Linked DNA regions of Homo sapiens: region 2 is linked to region 1. The links are contacts of gene promoters, found by promoter capture Hi-C in human tissues and cell types (Jung and others, 2019). All regions are on one chromosome and are shown on one strand. The core of a region is centred on a gene start or on the middle of the fragment in contact, and the rest is flanking DNA. Distances in the headings are between cores, read along the strand shown. Region 1 holds the start of APC2 (APC regulator of Wnt signaling pathway 2). Region 2 overlaps DAZAP1 (DAZ associated protein 1).

Region 1 (5,796 bases), core at 1-2,500:
GGTCACCATCCCATGCCCAGCCAGGTGGAAGGACCAGATGACGTGCAAAGCAACACATGTCTGCCTCCTGCTCCCCAAACCCAGGCCTCCCCCACGTGGTTCTTCTCAGCTGACCGAAGCCAAGCCTCAGACACCTTCCCTCTCCCCACATTCGGTGGTCATTTCTGCATCCTCATCAGACTAAGCTAGTCCCTCCAAGCTCTGCCCAGCGGGATCATGCCTCCCCCAGCTCCTGACACCCCTCTGTGAGGACATTCTGATCAGCCTCTTCCTGGCCTCCCACAGTCCCCCATGCACAGCCAGAGGGAGCTTTAAACGTCACAAGTGAGATCCCATTTCTCCCATGCTCAAACACCTTCCATGGCTCCCCAGTGCCCTCAGGATACGCTCCGACTCCTCCATGTACACCGCGACTCACTTAGAGGCTGGAGGCTCTCTTCTCTCAGGCCTTTGCACGTGCAGTTGCCCTGCCTAGAGCACCTTTTCTAAGTCCTGCCATCCCACACAGTGCAGCTTCTTCCACGAAGCTCTTCTGCCTACTTTCACCCCCAGGTTGCATCGTGTAGCCTCCTGGGGGCCTTCCTGAGCGATCACTCCCTGAAGGCACCATGACTGGGGGCTGGTCTTATTGAGCGGGCTGCATTTCAGGGGAGGGAGGCACAGGTATGGGAAGCCAGGCCCAAAGGGGCCTTTCTCCTTCCTTTAATCCAAACCCCCTCTTTCCAGAGAGGGAAACTGACACCCAGAGAGGTGCAGCAACACCCCCGAAGACACACCACTGGCCTGCCCATCCCTTCCTCCGATCACCTCAGGGAGGTCCGGATGGTGAAGCCCGTGAGTGGGTGTGTGCGCAGGACCGGCTGCAGAAACGCTGACGCCCAGCTCACCGGGACTCAGTTTCCCCTCCAGCTCCCACTCTGGGGAAATGGAGGGTCCAGAGTCTGTGCTGACGGGCAATGCTGAGAGCCAGGGATGGAAACCTCGACGCGAGGCGGAGGTCGCGCCCCTGCCCTCCTCCCCGAGGACACACACCCGCTTACGTGCAGCTGGGCTGGCGGGGCGCCTGGGTCTGGGGCCTCCTCCCTCTGCGCGGCTCCGCGGGCCCCACCGGAAATCCCGGCCCGGGGTGGCCTCGGAGCGCGCGGGCTCCGGGGTCTCCGCGGCGCGGGCAGGGGCTCCGGGGCGGACAAAGCCCGGTCCGGGCCTGGGCAGGCGGCGCTGCCGCTCCTAGCGCTGGGCGAGACCACCGCGAGCGGGGGAGGATGCGGGATGAGGGATGCGGGTGAGACAGCCAATGAGGGCGCGGGAAGACGGGCTGGTGCCATGGCAACAGCCAATGGCGGCCCGGGGCGGGGACCGGCGTCGGCCGCGGGGCGTCGGGCCTCCGCGCGGGCTCAGGGGCCGTGAGTGCGGGGGGCGAAACCCCCCCGAGGGAAGGGGGTGCCCCGAGGACCAAGATTCCTGTGTCCCGCACTTTATTGCAGGGTGCAACGGCCTCTTAAAACCTCCTGCGTCTGGATTTGCAGAATTGGAGAGTAAAACATCAAATCCTGGATGTTACATCAGCATCTTGGCGGGGGAGGGGTTTCCAGGGCAGTGGCCGGGCTGGGGCCAGGCCTGCACCCACCCCACAGGTCCAGCCTGGCCTGGTGCAGGTGCGTCAGGGTGGGACAGGGTTCGGGTCCAGGCTGGAGCTCCCTGAGGGTCCTGCCTGGTGGGGAGGGGAGAGGGGAGGAGGGGCAGGGCCACTGGGGAGCACCTGGGACGCTGCATCTCCCCACATTTCTCCCTGTCTCCCCAACGGAGCGTCAGATCCTCCTGTAACTCCGTTGCTCTTCATGTCCCTCTCTCTTTCTGTCTCCCCCTCTGTTCTCTGTCTCTCAATCTCTGTCTCCATGTGTCTCTGCCCCTGGTGGGTGGCACACTTAATTCACCCTCACGGACCGAAGGCCAGAGGAGGGAAGGGCCAGGGGTCCCAGGAGTCGCCATCTCCAGGTGTCCTGGATGCTCCATGAGTCCCTGGAAGCCATTTGAAGGTTTAACACACAGAGCCCGTCCCTGCAGCTCGGAGCAGCCCTTCCTGCTCTGGACACAGACTCACAGCACAGAAAGGGAGGCGACTGGGGCCAGAAGAGTGATTTTTTTCCGTGCTGGGCAGGCAGGGCAAATCATTCGCCGCTCAACCCTCGGTTTCCTCCTCTGTAAAATGGAGAGGAGGCGGAAGATTCTGCAAGGGCTGGTGCAGGGAATGATAGGAGAGGGTGGGAAGGTCCGAGTATTCAAGGCCCCGTAGACAAAGGCAAGGGAGGACCCGTGCTGTTTCCTGTTGGGCCTTGAGCTGAAGACCCGAGGGCCTTGTCCCGGGCCAGCACTGCCAGGGGCTGAGAGCCCTTCGGCCTGGCTGTCTGGGAGCCCCCAGAGCTGGACGCAGCTGTCCCCACTGGTTGGGTCTGGGGAGGCAATGCAGTGGGCAGACACAGGGGATCTTTTCTTTTTTCTTTTTCTTTTTTTTCTTTTTTTTTTTTTTGAGACGGAGTCTTGCTCTGTAGCCCAGGCTGGAGTGCAGTGGCACGTTCTCGGCTCACTGCAAGCTCCGCCTCCCAGGTTCACGCCATTCTCCTGCCTCAGCCTCCCGAGTAGCTGGGACTACAGGCGCCCGCCACCACGCCCAGGCTAATTTTTTGTATTTTTTAGTAGAGACGGGATTTCACGTTAGCCAGGATGGTCTCGATCTCCTGACCTCGTGATCCACCCGCCTCGGCCTCCCAAAGTGCTGGGATTACAGGCGTGAACCACCACGCCCGGCCTTTTTTTTTTTTTTTTTTTAGATGGGGTCTTGCTCTGTCCCCCAGGCTGCAGTGCAGTGGCGCCATCTCGGCTCACCGCAACCTCCGCCTCCTGGGTTCAAGTGATTCTCCTGCCTCAGACTCCTCAGTAACTGGGATTACAGGCATGTACCACCTTGCCAGCTAATTTTTGTATTTTTAATAGAGAGGGGGTTTCACCGTGTTGGTCGGGCTGGTCTCAAACTCCTGACCTCATGATCCGCCCGCCTCGAAGGGGATTTTTTTCTGGAGGCTGGAAGGCTGCCCTGAGAAGTGAACAGCAGTGATCAGGAGGAGAGGCGTTCCAGGCTGAGGGAAGATCAATGCATGCTTGGGACACAGGGGGTGTCTGGTGGAGCCATGGGGTAGGGCGCGTGGTGGGGTTTGACAGGTCAAGCCGGGGCAGAGCTGGGCGAGGCTGAAATGGGGTTGGGGATGCAGAGCCCAGGGCCCTGGCTTCAGCTCAGCCTTGTTGTCCCTGTGTCCCCCTGGGCATGTCTCTCTCTGGCCTCGGTTTCCAGTCTTGTTTACTGAAGGGTGGGTTGGATGATCCCTGCCTCCCCCAAAGAGGAACTAAGTCCCACCTCCCTGTGTAGTTTCAGATGTCTCAGCTCCCCAGGCCCCCATCAGGCAGGGGTTTGGGGGATCCAAGGTCAGTCCTGTCCTTGTATACATGGGGAAACTGAGGCCTGGGCCAGGGAACGTGTTGCCTGAGTTCACCTGTGCCAGCCAGGCCTCCGGAGTGACACTGAACCTCCCTTCTTATCCCTCTGGGGGTGGCCAGGGCCTGGAGGGCTGAGGGTACATGGGGGCTGAGACCCCAAGACAAGATGCCCTTGGCCCCAAATCTACAAAACATTATGTCCCTGAACAATCCCCCCCCACACACTAAAATCCTCGACCCTGTAAATCCTTGAACCACAGCCACACTCAGACATCACCAGACATTTCAGAGCCTCAAGAACCCCCCACAGCCCCCTAGGACTTCAGGAGACTGAGAGAGGTCTCCCCCTTCTCCCACTGCAGAACGCAGGGCCTAGCCCAAGACCCCGACCTAGGCTCCTCCCTGGGGTCCTCCACGCCCCCTACTGCTGCTGGGCTAAAGGGGAAGTTCCATGAAATGCTCACTCCCCCACCCCTGTCCTGTGACACCTCCCCGCAAGTCCGCAGCCTGGCACACGGCTCACTCTTGGAGTGTCTTTGAGCCTTCTGAGTCTGACCTCGAGCTGTCCCCGCCCCCTTGATGCCTCCTCTGTGCCAGGGGCTAGAGGCAGAAACAGGGGCGGCCCCCATCGGGAGCTGGGTGGGGACAGAGAAGGCACCAGGTCATCGCGGGAGGATAGAGACGGCCCGCCGCCGGCTGGGTGGCCGGGCAGAGCCCTGACCGGTGAGGAGGCCACCGGAGGTGGGGGAGGGTGGGGTAGGCCGGTCCAGGCCGCGCCCTGAAGCCTGACCGCCGCTATGGGCCTCAGTTTCCCCGGCGGCGAGTCGGCAGACGTGCGCCTCCGTCAGCACCGCGGACAGCTCCCCGGCCCCCGCCCCGCGTTCTCTTGCGGGCGCCTTAGCTCCGCAACGAGGCTCCGGCCTCGAAGCGTGACCTTGGGCTCCCCGCTGCACCCCCCAGCCTCAGTTTCCCCTCCAATGAGGGATGTCACAGCCGCGAAATTCAGACGATTCCGGAGGCTGGAGAAGCGCTGGGGTCGGGAGCGGACGGATACGAACAGCAGCGGCGGCGAACGTCAAAGCAGGCCATACGCTCGCGCCCAGAAGGGGAAACTGAGGCCCAAAGAAGCGCAGGGCGTGGCCCAGGCCCCCACCCTGCGCAGGGCCGAGCCTCCGCAGGATGCCCCCGCAGCCGCCCCCGCCGCCCCAGCTGGCGCAGCCTCCGCGTCGGCGCAGTGAGGAGGGGTCCGAGGGTCTCCTGCAGAGGCCGAGGGCTGGGCTGGGCGAGCCCTGCGCTTGCGCAGACCCGGGGCTGGGGGTCGCAGCGGCGCACGAGAGGGGCTTCCATCCCCGCCAGCCTTCCGAGGCGGTTTCCCGGCAACGGTCTCTACGGCGACGGCACTAGACCCCCGACTCTGCAGCCTCCGCGCGCTCGCCCCATGCGCCCCCCGCCGCCGCGCCCGCTGTTCCCGCGGTGTGGACCCCGCCCCGTTCCTGCGCGGCCCGGAGCCCTCCCCAACGGCTCGACCCACGCGCCCTACCTGGTCCCCGAAGAAGGCCGAGTGCAGCAGGCTCAGGAGCCCCAGGAGCCCCATGGAGCCGCGGCCGCCCCGGACCCGCCGCGCCCCGCCCCTCGGCGGCCAGGGTGGGGGTGCGGGACGCGAACGGGGCCGCCCTGCGCCTGCGCGGAGAGGGGCGGGAGGGGTCAGTCCGCGGGCCCGGGGCGGGGCTCCTCCCGAAAGGGGCGAGGGCGTACCGTGGGGTCTGGGGGTGCTCGCGGGGGCTGGGGAGTCTCGCGGGACCGAGGCTGCGGAGGGGCGGTGGGAGATCCAAGGATGGGAGAGAGGGGAGGGGACTCGCGTGGGCCGAGCGGCGCCAGGGTCCGGGTCCGACCACGCTGGGGAGTTCGAATGCGGAGGAGGCTGGGGGGGCCCGAGGCGGCGGGGAGGAGGCCGGGTGGGGGTGGGGGCACGAGAGGTCCCACGGGGAATGGGGGTCGCGGGGGGCCAGAGGCGGCGTCGCCATGCGGCTGTGGTCCGCTGCCCGCGGACGGTCACCCTGCGGAAGCTCGGAACCACCCCCGAATCAGCCCGGCTTGGCGCGCTGAGGTTCATTAGTCATTCAGCAAACATCACCTGCGCGCACAAGGCTTGCTGGGCGCCGAGCTGGGCGCGCGGGGGGCCGCCGTAAGGGGGCGACACCGAACGCGGACATTCATGCAACAAGCATTTATAAAGCACCTACTGTGTGCTGGGTCCCCCTGCACTGAACAAAACAAAATCCAGGCCCTTGGGAAGCTGACGTGAAC
Region 2 (5,796 bases), core at 1,041-3,540, 37 kb after region 1:
TGCTGATCACGCAACAGCAACAGGCTTAGGTTGAGGCCTCATTAACTTAAAATCCTACGTCTCCCACGCACCCTTCGCAATCAGGCCAGGGAGCGTTGAGGTCAGGCCTAGAGACCGTGGGAGGAGCGAGGCCTCCGCGTGCCTCACTCTCCATAGGCTGTGCCTCACTCTCCATAGGCTGTGCCCGCGCTGAGTCAGGGCCAGCCCCGCCCACATCCCTGCCAGCAGGGCCCGGCACCCAGCAGGAGCCAGCAGCAGCCCCCACCCCATGAAGGAAGGGCCCCCAAGCCTGGCTGGAACCGACCGGAAAAATGCTCATTTACACAATCCTTTGGAATTAAAGTTCAAGCAGTTCTCAAAAAAAAAAAAAAAAACAAAACACACACACACACACACACACACACACACACACACATAAAACCCTGAAAACCAAACCAAATCCAAGTCACTTGAAGAAACAGCAGCCTGTAGTCAGCACTGCACCCACCCAACAGCCAGGTAACAGGCAGGTGTCCTCCAAGCAGCCCAGTACCCCCTCCACCCCCACCTCACTGGCAGAAGGAACTCGTCAGACCAGTCCAGTTTCGGTCTTCATTTAAATTTCAAAAATTGTGTATTAAGGGGGAAGGGCTAGAAACGCTCAGCTGAGAAACCTGAAACAGGGCCGGGGGGGTTAGATAACCTGGTATCAGTACTGTCTTTCTCAGCTGGGCGCAGATCACGCCTATAATCACAGCATTACGGGAGGCCAGGAGTTCAAGACCAGCCTGGGCAACGTAACGAGACTCCAGGTGGTGGCAGGCACCTGTAGTCCCAGCTACTTGGGAGGCTGAGGCAGAAGGATCGTTTGAGTCAAGGTCGAGGCTGCAGTGAGCCGTGATTGTGTCACTGCACTCCAGCAGGGGTGACAGAGATCTCATCTCTTAAATAAAATTAAAAAAAAAATAAAAAATACTCTTAAATAAAATTAAAAAAATAAAAAATACTCAAATACAATTTTAAAAAATAATAAATACTTTCTCAATTTTTTTTTGAAAAATTGTCTCGCTGTGTTGCCCAGGCTGGAGTGTAGTGGCGCGATCTCAGCTCACTGCAACCTCCGCCTCCCGGGTTCAAGCGATTCTCCTGCCTCAGCCTCCCGAGTAGCTGGGACTACAGGCGCCCGCCAGCTAATTTTTGTATTTTTAGTAGAGACGGGGTTTCACCATATTGGCCAGGATGGTCTCAATCTCTTGACCTCGTGATCCACCAGCCTCGGCCTCTCAAAGTGCTGGGATGACAGGCGTGAGTAGCTGCGCCCGGCCACTTTCTCAATTTTGATCACTGTGCTGTGTTCATGTGAGAGAATGTCATTGTTCTTGGGAAACAATAGATATCTCAGTGTACACATAAAGGGGACTGCATCGGTCTCCAGCTACTCTCAAATATTTCAGTAGAAACACACACAGTGGGGATGGGTGCACTGGCTCACGCCTGTAATCCCAGCACTTTGCAAGGCTGAGGTGGGCGGATCACCTGAGGTCAGGAGTTCGAGACCAGCCTGGCCAACATGGCAAAACCCCATCTCTACTAAAAATACAAAAATTAGCTGGGCTCGGTGGTGCGCACCTGTAATCCTAGCCACTCGGGAGGCTGAGCTCGAGGTGTACTGCTTGAACCCGGGAGGCGGAGGTTGCACTGAGCCAAGATCAAGCCACTGCACTCCAGCCTGGGCGACAGAGTGAGGGTCCATCTAAACACACACACACACACACACACACACACACACACACACACACAGTTCACTGGGGGTGGGGCAAGAGGCACCACGTGCCAAAGGGTAAAATGTCAGCCAATGGTGAGTCTGGCAGGGCCAAGAGGATATGGGAATTTTTGTAATTTTCCTGTAAGTCAGAAGTTATATATACAATTATGGTATAAAAGACTTTCATTACTGAGAACAAGACAGAATTTCAGTTTCTTTTGAAACAAGTCTCAGTCCTTATGGAATCTGAGACAGCAACAGATAGCTTTCGTTTCACATAGCTGTGTCTGGAGCTCCCCACCGCAGGTGACCCGCCCGCCTCGGCCTCCCAAAGTGCTAGGATGACAGGCGTGAGGCACCGCGCGCGGCCACACTGTGTGTTTCTGTTGAGATATTTGAGAGCAGCTTCTAACGCTAAAGCTTCCTGTGTCCATGTGTCTTTTACTACCACTCAGGAGCCACCGGCGAACACCTTCTCCCTGGTCTACAGACAGAAGCCTCCGGGAAGTCCCGGAAAGCAGGGTCATCTCTTCAGTGGCAGGGACTGCCTCCAGGGCCCTGGCACAAAGTCCCTACTTCTGAATCTCAGGATGTTTTAATCAATAAAATAAGAAAGCTCCTGGCTGCCAACCTCACCAGGTCGTGAGTGAGAAGCCGGCACATCAGAAACATGCGGAGCCCTGGGCAGGCACCTCCCAGACACTGTCCATCAACTGCCCAGGCAGCAGAACCAACTCTCACACAAGTAAACGTCGGAGTCCAGGAAGCCGGGCGCGGGCAGAGGCCAAAAGGAGGAGCTGCTGGCTCTCGTGGGCTTGCTACGGGGCTGGCGGTCCGCTTGTCCTCAGCTCCAGGCTTGCTCAGCCTGCACCTTGGCTGGCGGCGTGTGGACTGAGGACGTTAACGGGGCAAGGCAACACTGGCCTACGCAGATGAAGGGGTCGGTGAGCAATGTGGCTCCTGCACCCTGCCTCTGAGGGGCCCGCTGGGTGGGAGAGTCATCACCCAGCTGACGGCATCTCCGACACTGGAAGTCGTGGCTCCTACAGACCTCACACCCCACAAACCCAAAAGGGGTGTTCTCATTAGTGGGGGAGGCGTGGGACGAGCTCCACTTCTTCCCTTGCAACCTGGAGTCCAGCGTGCAGTCTGCCCATCAAAGGTCATGATGAACATCTCCCAGGATCTGCAAGCCTGGCACCCAGGGCCTGCAGCTCGACACCTGGCAGGTGCTCAATCCACGGTGGCCGGCGCAGCCACCCTCTTCTGCCTGTTAAAGCAAAAGCCGTTTTGGATGGCAACCTCGCTTGCTGCGTGCCATTCGGGTGCCTGTGCGGTATTTATGCGTAAAGTCCATCTGCAGAGGCTTCCTCTGGCCTAGGCTGACCACAAAGAGCCCTGACCTCCTGGCAGCACCAGAGTGGGCTTCAAAAACCGGCGGCCAGCCCGGCCATTCGGGGCCAGCAGCCTCAATGGGGGCAGTTGGCAGGCGACCTTTCCCTTCCTGCTGGGCCGGGGGACCAAGCCAGGAGGAGCCTGCCTCCCCACAGACCCCACCTGGCTCTGGGCTCCGCCAGTCACACTCAGCTCCGTGCACAATCTCAAGAGGCAGAAGTCCAGGCCCAGTGGCGGCTGATGTGTGGGGAACCCTTCTCTTCTTCCAGAGCATCAGGAAGAGCCTCTAGGGACTTTCCTGCCCCTAAGACCAGGTGGGAAACCAGGACCACTTCACCCACTGCCTCAGGCCAGTGAGCCCAGCCCGCCCCTCCATAGCCTGGACTCCCTCTCCCCAGCAGGGTCAGATGCCCCCCCTCCAGCCCACGCCTGCAGGGTGTGGGGTCCACAGAACACAGGAGCGGTCCGTGAACTGGAACGCGCTGCTGTGTGCTGAAGGAGCCCCTGAATGCCCACATCCTGGGTGCTAACTGTGGTCACCCTCATCCTCTCCCTGCCAGCCCCGCCCTCCCAGGCGGACCAGTGTTCTCCTTGGCAACGCCTGGAGCCAAGCTGGAAGCTCAGCCTATAAGCATCTGTCGAATGACTGGCCTCTGCCAAAAGCCCTGTCACAGCTCTCAGGGATTCTGACATCATGACATGGTGTCACGGGGACCAGGCCTGGATGGGAAAAGGCCTCAGTTCACAGAAGACAGCACAACCTCAGATTGACGGGTCGCACCATGAACATAGCCGCCTGACCAGGAGCGCCCTCTGTGCGGGGCGGGCAGTGGAGGAGTGTGGACTCCCAGCTCCGGATCTTCCACCCCCTGGGGTGACCCCGGGCCCATCCCTCAACTCCTCTGTGCCTCAGTCTCTCTGGCAAAGCCAAGGGTTAGAGCCAAGGCTACAAGCACAGCTGGGCACGCTGCGCGCTGCTGCTAGCTCTGGGCCACTGGGGAGCTGCTGTGTGAAGGGCAAGCGCCAGGGTCCATGCTGCTGCCTTTCTAGACACCGGCCTGCTCCAGACCATTGGAGCCAAGGCGAGCCAGTCAGGAGCACATCCACCCTCAAGGCCCATTCACAGGAATCAAAGGAGCCGACACAGGACAAGCCATAAACCACAAGGAGCAGCGGCCCCCAGCGCAGGGGCAACCAGGCCAAAAGCACAGATGCTCCCAGACAGTGGCTCTCCCCCCAGCAGGACACTGGGTGATGTCTGGGAACATTTGTGGTTGTCACGACTGGGGGTACTCCTGACCCGGAGTGAATGGAGGCCAAAGGTGCTGCCCAGCACCCTGCAGTGCCCACGGTGCCCCAGAGTGATCCAGGCCAGAGTGCTGACAGAGCCCAGGAGACCTGCCTCGGAATAACTCCAAATGCACCAAGAGAGCCCCAGAAAGGCCGGCACGGCCCCATGAGGTTCCCTATCACTCCCCGCACTGCAACAGCCTCCCCCAGATCACGGCCCTCTCTGGCCTGACCAACAATCTTGCCAGGTGCCTTGTGCTCACTCTGCACAGGTACAAGTAGTCACGGCCTCTAGGGGCCCAGCCAGGAGCCCCACTCAGGATGTCTCCTTCCACAGCCACCCAATAAACCCAGAGACCTGCCATGGGCCTGGCTCTGAGCTGCATGGCCCCCGGCCACAGTCCTGGGTATCCTCGAAGCTGCCCAGAGGCGGCTTTCTCCTCTCTCCGCTGAGTCCTTCCTCCCTCTGTGACTTTCCTACAATATTTCCAGGTGTCCCTGTCTTACCATTCCCCAGTGTACCAGATAAAATCTTCCATAAACCTCTCTCTCCAGTTCCATGACCGTGTGCTGCCTTGGAAGCCAGCAGAACACAATGGCCTGGGCGCTCGAGGTGACCCCTCTGAGCCTCTGTCCTCTCCCCAGTAGGCCAGGCATGGGCCCTATCCCTGACACCTGGTCTACCACCCAGGCGCCTAGCACCCAGCGGCTACTCAACAGGATGTGGCGACCCCGGCCGCGCTGTGTCAGCTTCCCAGAATCCAAGTCAGAGGCGCTCAAGCCAGACTTTAAGATGACTTCACAAGGCCAGGGAGGGCACACTGGAGACTCGGGCCTTCCTGATCGCGCGTGCTCTGAGCGCTCCAGGCCACCTGCTGGTGCCAACCCTCTAACCCTCCTGACAGGTCAGTGCCTGTCCCCCACCCTTCACAAGAGGACCAGGACAGGCCCCGCTCCCAAAGGAGGACACTGTCCATCACATCCACCATGTAGGGTCCGCGTGCCAAACCCACCAGGATCCAGAGAGGGACTCCCCACACCCCACCACACGTATGCGCTTCCTCCTGCATGAAGCCCCCCTCAAGCTGACTGGAAGTCGGTGTGTGTAAGGCATCCGTTATCACCGGCAGGCCTCAGCTGACTTTCATCCCCCATCAAGCTTTACATGGACTTCTAAGCCAGCACAGGGACCCTCAAAACTTGGGACGACTTCTCAGACTCAAAAGCAGAGCTTCCCCCAAGGATGGCTCCCTAACCCACCTTCCAGGTGTGGATTCCCAGGGCAGCAGCTGGACGGCCACAAGTGTCCCAGAACAGGGGGCTCCCAAGCTCCAAGTCTCCTGAGGCGTTGACCCCGCACCCATGCA

The links. Contacts are between HindIII fragments. The study calls those that stand out against the background at their distance.
Region 2: a fragment that was not itself captured here is called in contact with the fragment with the promoter of APC2 in region 1 in 1 of the 25 tissues and cell types used here (dorsolateral prefrontal cortex).

The regions. Positions count from the first base shown.
Region 1 is chr19:1,445,575-1,451,370 of GRCh38, reverse strand. It overlaps APC2 (APC regulator of Wnt signaling pathway 2), which reads right to left and starts at 1,250. Exons shown (of 15, transcript NM_005883.3): 1 at 1,033-1,250. RefSeq lists silencers at 1,204-1,403, 4,147-4,441, 5,091-5,140, 5,601-5,700, 5,751-5,796. The HindIII fragment of the contact is 30,284 bases long and covers 1-5,796 here.
Region 2 is chr19:1,409,973-1,415,768 of GRCh38, reverse strand. The region is part of intron 1 of DAZAP1 (DAZ associated protein 1); the gene reads right to left. Among named protein-coding and RNA genes, the nearest start is that of DAZAP1, 5.3 kb to the right of the region's middle. The HindIII fragment of the contact is 3,172 bases long and covers 705-3,876 here.